Regions from separate parts of the Homo sapiens genome. Here region 2 is linked to region 1. The links are contacts of gene promoters, found by promoter capture Hi-C in human tissues and cell types (Jung and others, 2019). All regions are on one chromosome and are shown on one strand. The core of a region is centred on a gene start or on the middle of the fragment in contact, and the rest is flanking DNA. Distances in the headings are between cores, read along the strand shown. Region 1 holds the start of HAS2 (hyaluronan synthase 2). Region 2 has its middle 210 kb from the start of LINC02855.

What was found. The method cuts DNA at HindIII sites, captures the fragments that hold promoters and counts their contacts. A contact is called where the count stands out against the background at its distance.
Region 2: a contact is called between a fragment that was not itself captured here and the fragment with the promoter of HAS2 in region 1, in 1 of the 25 tissues and cell types used here (mesendoderm cells).

The regions. Positions count from the first base shown.
Region 1 is chr8:121,639,813-121,643,160 of GRCh38, reverse strand. It overlaps HAS2 (hyaluronan synthase 2), which reads left to right and starts at 1,721. Exons shown (of 4, transcript NM_005328.3): 1 at 1,721-2,308. It also overlaps HAS2-AS1. RefSeq lists enhancers at 439-1,062, 3,264-3,348. The HindIII fragment of the contact is 13,134 bases long and covers 1-3,348 here.
Region 2 is chr8:121,904,146-121,907,493 of GRCh38, reverse strand. No RefSeq gene overlaps it. Among named protein-coding and RNA genes, the nearest start is that of LINC02855, 210 kb to the right of the region's middle. The HindIII fragment of the contact is 3,794 bases long and covers 1-3,348 here.

The DNA of each region.
Region 1 (3,348 bases), core at 472-2,971:
CCACGTTATATGTCAGAGTACAGAAGTTAGGTGATATATTTAAAATTATAGTTTAGCATTTGAAAACTACCAAAAAACTGAATCAGGAAGCTCGAGTCTGATTAAGTGGGATGAAATTGTGATCTGAAATTTAAGCCAGTCTCTCCAAGAGTTGAACCACCTAAGGCGGAGTTCAAACAAAGGCTGAAGCAGGAAGGTTTGCTGGGGGAAATCAGTGGGGTCCCCTGAGCAGCGTGAAGTCATCAGGCCAAGGTAATGCTTCCCAGAGGTGTAACCGCTGTGTGTGTGTGTGGCGTGGCGGGGGGGGGCGGGGGGAAGGGGGCGGAAACGCGCAGTACTTTGCAGGTCAGCCCCTGGGGACTGGGATGGCTGACTACCTGGTATTGCACTAAAATGCTTGACCCCTAATCACATCCCCCAACACTACACCTTGTGCGACGTGATGAAAGCATCATTTCCAGTTTATTCGACTTTTCTGTTTAGACTTATTCATTATAGCCCATATATGTGATAAGGACTAAGAACCCAGTCTTCAAGGTCCTGTCGAGTTCCAAAGAAGTCCACCCCTCAGAAGATCCTTGGAAGGGGAAGAAGGAAAAAAGAAAGAAAGAAAAATCTGTTTTACCCTATAACAATTTCAGCGCAATCTCCCAAGACCAAGTTGGTTAATTTGTAAAGTCACTCTCATTTTTTCCTCAACAGTGCCACCTACTGTCCATTTTCAGTCATCAGCAGGCTTGTTGGCAAGGTCCAAGAGAAAGAAAGGAGGCGGAGTGGTGGGGGGAGGAGTAACCAAAAAACGAACTCTACCCAGCCTTGGGGCATTGTGAAAACGACGAGGAAAGGCCATCTCCAAGCAAGACATATTTGTCCTCGTCAACTTTGCAGAAGGCTTGCAAAAAGCAAAAGCCAGTTAAGCCATTTCCTTCAAGATGGCTAAATATAAGTCCTCCAGAAAACAATTTTTATTATTTTATTTTTAATGCGCGCTGTTTGAGTATGTTTACGTTAGGGGACCAGATTGAGCAAAAATATACATATAATTACTTTTCTATGTTTTCCGCCCACCCACGGCAGAAACCTCTTTATGAGAAAGGCTTTGACACTTGACGTCAGCTCAGAAACTTTTGAGTTGGCGGGAAGAAAGGGTTAACAAGTGGTGGACCAGCGCGATCTTTTTAGAGTCCCAGCCGGCTGTCGAAGGCTCCAGGTACACACACACACGCACACACTTACACACACACACACACACGTGCACACACCCCTCCCAACTGTTCCTCCTTGGGTCGGTTACTTAGCTGAAGGGCACCATTTGGCTTTAAAACAAATTACTTCAGCGCCACAGGGAGTTTATCGCTTGGAGGGAACTTGTAACGCGGGAGTTCAGGGAAATCCAAGAGGCGAGGGCTCCCACCTCCGCCGCCAGAGGAAAGTAAGGAATCAGGTGGTGGCCCCCTATGTGTCTTGCATTTCTCTGCACACGTTAGCAATCAAGTTAATTGAATTCATTGGAGTTTAGAACCGGCCTGTAGCTCAGAGAAGGCTTTGAATGGCCAATTTCTCTCTCTCCCTCTCCCCCTCCCCGCCTCCCGCTCGCCCGCCCGCCCGCGCTCCCAGTTCCCTCCCCTCAGGGTTCCCCAGTCCACACCTCCCTCTCCACTTCCCTCACCCCCCCACTCCCTCCGCCGCCCTATTAAAACACCCACCAGCTCACTTGTTAAGACCCCCTTAAGTTGGAGGAGGCAGAAGGGCAACAACGGCGGGGAAGGAGAAGTCAAGACGTCTGGAAAGAATTACCCAGTCCTGGCTTCGAGCAGCCCATTGAACCAGAGACTTGAAACAGCCCCAGCCAAAGACTTTTCTCCCAATTCTGCGCTTCCTGGGTTCTGCTGAGTCTTCCACAGGCTTTTTTTTTTTTTTTTTTTTTTTTTAAGACGAAAAAGAGATTTTCTGTTATCGGGGGCAGAAAGACTGAAGCCCAAAAAAAAAAAAAAAAAAAAAAGAAAAGAAAAGAAAAAAGAAAAGTTAATTTATTTTTAAAGCATAATTTTTTTAAGAATTAGACTGAAGTGCAACGGAAACATAAAGAGAATATTAGTGAAATTATTTTTTAAAGTGGGGAAGAATCAAACATTTAAGACTCCCCTATCCTTTTTAAATGTTGTTTTTAAATTTCTTATTTTTTTTGGCCGGTCGTCTCAAATTCATCTGATCTCTTATTACCTCAATTTTGGAAACTGCCCGCCACCGACCCTCCGGGACCACACAGACAGGCTGAGGACGACTTTATGACCAAGAGCTGAACAAGGTACGTTACACTGGCGCGTTTTGGTGAAGGATGAAGGTCCTCCAACAGGCCAGGGAGAAGGAAGACATCCTTATAATTGTTTTAAAATTTTTAAGCCAGTTTCGATAGAAAAGTTGGAAGTTTAAAAATTTCCAACAGACTGAAGATCAGGGAATATTTCAGGTCACTGTCAGGCTTAGCAACATAGCCCTCTTTTCCCATTTCTGCGGCTCTCGCCAGAAATCCGCTGCCTTTCTGGGGACACAGGTAGCCTCTCTGCCTGGGAAAGGCTGCACGTCCTCAGATGTACTTTTCCATTTTGCATCTTCCGGAGCAGCAGAGGGGCTCCAGAGTTAGGAAACAAGAATTCCCAATGTAAGGAAAATGCATTCTGCACAGCCGCCCCACCCCTTCCCTTCTTTTTTTCCCACACACACACACACACACACACACTGTGGGGAGAAAAACTGGAATAGCCCAGCGCGTTTTACTTCTAAGTGAAAAAGTCGCTTCTTGCTGGGAATGCAAAGGGTTAAGCAATCTGGGCTTCCAGCTCCGACAAGCTGGGACCCTGGAGAAGGAGGGTCCTTCTCTACCTCCTCGCAGCTACCATCCCCTCTCGGCCACTCCCCCCTTTCCCGGGCCTCCCCTCCTTTGCACTTCCCGCACCCCATTAAAGTGTCAGGCTCGTCAGTCTGGGCTTACTCGGGCCAGGGGTCCCTGACGCAGGCGGTGGCACCCGCAGATAGGAGCGGGAGGAGGGCGCGCATCCCTCCTCTCCTCGCCGGGCCAGCCCGCCGGCCGCCCGGAGGCAGGGCGTGCGTGGGGACCGCGCGCTGCGCTTCGGCAGCTGCGGCGTCCCCAGAGCCAATTCCGACGTGGCACCGCGCACGCCGGCGCTTCTCTCCTCAGCTGCAGCTGGGGACACTGCCCGGTGGGAGATCTGGGGGCGCCGTCTCGAGCGCCCAGCCGATGAACGGGGCGAGGGGCCTGTGGGAGCTGGGGTGGAGGTGGGAGGGAAGCCAGAGGCTGGGTTGGGATGGATAATCAACACCTTGGGG
Region 2 (3,348 bases), core at 571-3,070, 260 kb before region 1:
TAAAGTGAGAGTACATTTTGTGGGAACATGCATATTTTATGCACTCTAAATATACATTAAAAATTTGATTTCTCATGCCAGAGGCAAAGCTGAATCATCTTTCTTCATTTTTTATAGAAAATGTTAACAAGTTATTGAGTTATGACAATTTTAACAAAAACTGCAGTCAAAATATATGTGGAAAATGGGTATAGAGGTGTGCTGACCAATTAGTTAATAAAAATATTGTTACTTTTTTGAATTTTGTGATGTTCTTTGTATTTCTCAGGTTTTAAAAATCCAACTTTGTTGTACTTTTTCTTAGTATAAACACATATTTGCATTTAAATTTAGCTGTTAATTGCAATTACAGTATTTTTTTTCTAAAGAGGGTTCCCCCTAAAGTAAATGTGTATCAACTTCCAAAAACTTTGGATTCTTCCTAAGGTGTGTACTAGGAATTAGGTAGAAAAAATGATTAATAATTCAATTATCTGTGTGAGGATAAAAACTTTTACAAAGAGTTATATTTAAGAATGATCCTGCAAAGTAAGTAAACTGGGGTAAATAGAGGAAAGAAACATTAGTCTTTAGTTCAAAAGTCACTGAAATACCTCTACTGAACACTCTATCTCAAACTGCACCCTACACTCACCTTGCCTAGTGATATGGTTCGTCTGTGTCCCCGCCCAAATCTCACCTTGAATTGTAATAATCCCCACATGTCAAGGGCAGGGCCAGGTGGAGATAATTGAATCATGGGGGTGGTTTCCCCCATACTGGTCTTGTGACAGTGAATAAGTCTCACGAGATCTGATAGTTTTATAAATGGGAGTTCCCCTGCACAAACCCTCTTGGCTGCCACCATATAAGACGTGATTTTCTTCCCCTTTGCCTTCCACCGTGATTGTGAGGCCTTCCCAGCCATGTGAAACTGTGAGTTCATAAACCTCTTTCCTTTATAAATTACCCAGTCTCAGGTATGCCTTTCTTAGCAGCACGAGAACAGACTCATACACCTAGTCACTCTCTATTCTATTGCTCTGAGTGTTCATTACTTTTTACCTCTATATATTCACTAAAATATAAGCTTCATAAAAGCAACAATTTGTTCCACCTTGTTTATCACTATAATCCTACAGCCTAAAACAGTACCTGCCATATAGCACATAATAAACATAGGTACTTTATAAATATTTGTTTAGTGAATGGTTGAATACCCTAAAGTTTCCTATATTCATGCACACTTCTTTGATTTTAATTATTTGGCAAAAGAGAATAGCCAATAAGATATCGGAACACTTCTAAATCTAGCTAAGTTTTGTTTCTGTATGTTGAGCTTTCAAAACCCTATGGTAGTTTTATTTACAGTTATTAAACACACACACACACACACACACACACACACACACACACGGAAAATTGGAGCAATCTAGAAAGTCAAACCTGGAATTTAAAAAAAATTACTCTATAACCATTTTCAGAAAAGCAGAAAAATATATGATCAGAATAAAAAGATACATCTGGCCACCATATTAAAAACGCAACATCTTGACAACAGCTAATTTAATTGGAAATTGTGCAGAAATTTTCTCACAGAGCTCACAAATCTTAGCAGTCGTGCTGATAATCTTTCCAGGAACTTAGAAGCAATCCTGATACTTTTGGTGTAAGTTACTTCTTTTAATCATGTAAATTTTTTAGGTGAAAGTTATATTTTGTAATCATGAATAAGAGGACCCAAAGGGATCTTCTCAGTTCCAGGCAACTCTCCAGTCACAAGAATGGGACAAAGATTTCCCAACACTAGCTTGCCTATGGCATTAAACTTTATCTGGCATAATTTTCTCCATCACAATTTTGAAGCTGAAAGGGACCTTGGTAGTCTCTGTGGCAGAAATGGATGCATACCAAATAGTCACTTTCCACCTTCTCCTTGCAAACAGAACCTCTTTTTGTTTTGGGGCAAAAATGTGCCCAGGTCTCTATTTGTTTTCGCATTTCCTTTTTCAGCTAGAGGTTGCCATATGACATATTTCTGGTGGCGATATGTAAGACAAAATCTAATTTTTTAAAAAAAATTCCTGATATAAGAAACTAGCATAGCAGGCAGCTGAATTGAATGTAGGTGCAAAGTGTGGAGCCGTAGCTGCCACTTTATGACCATGAGGTGACAAGCAAACAGCTAGGAATAGTGAGTATCATAGAGCCACCGGCCATGCGTTAGATTACTCATCTCCAAACCACTTATGTAAGAAACATAAGCCTATATTTAAGTTATTATTAGCTAGGCTTCTGCCACTTACAACAAAAAGTATTGGTGTTATAGTTATTACTTCTAATGCCTTTATTTATTTAGGAGAAAAAAACAACTGAGGCTCAATAAGAACAAAAAATTTGGCTGGAGTCATTGATATTTTCGGTAAGAAACACATTACAAGAGACTGTTCCTCTTCCCGATACTCACAAGCACAACCTATGGACATTGAGTAAGATTAGGGGTCTGTTTCATCTGCCTCTTCAAGGCAAGGAAACATTGAGCATGGCAAAATGCTTACAGTAGAAAATGTCCGAATTGTTGATGATTACAAAGATGAGTGCTAGATGTTAATACACTGAAATATTTGTATATAATATTAATCTTTTAAAAATATTTTATGTAACATATTGAAGCCAAATTACTATCATCCACAATAAAATATGTGTACATTATTGGATCAAAACATCTGGATGACAAGTCAAAGATTCTGTTATTCATTAAGCTGTTCTTTATTCTCATTTCTAATTATCCAACTATCTACATGCTTTGACATCATGAAAATTCCATCGAGTTAAGTGTCGAGTTAAGGAGGAATTTGTGATTTGAGTAATACAATTACTGTGATTTGAGACCTCCAATCTTTACTTTTCTCTCATGGGTTTTTTCTTTTAATAAAGGATTCTAGAAGACTCCAGATTGACTCTATGCCATCTGTGTTTTGTTTCAGTCTTCAGTTATTAATTTATGCTAAATTAAAGTTGACAACTTCGTATATAACTTCTTACAAAGAAGGTTTTTCTCTGACTTACTAATGCTAACACCCAGTCCCAGGCATTGCTCTCTCTTTACCACATTTCCATGCAAATAACTGACAAACAAATAAATACTCTTAGTAAGGCATTTGGTATCTTCATCTTCTTTCATGAAAATGCAATTCTGAGATTTCCAATTATACATATGCACCATATGTGAACCATGACGTCAATGAACAGGAACTTTAATATGGTTTTGCAGTCACGGACCATGTATTGTATCCCTTTTATGATAGTATTTTCTTTATCATTCACTGTTGCAAGGCAGCTGATGCAAGTGCCTGAGTGCCCCCACTT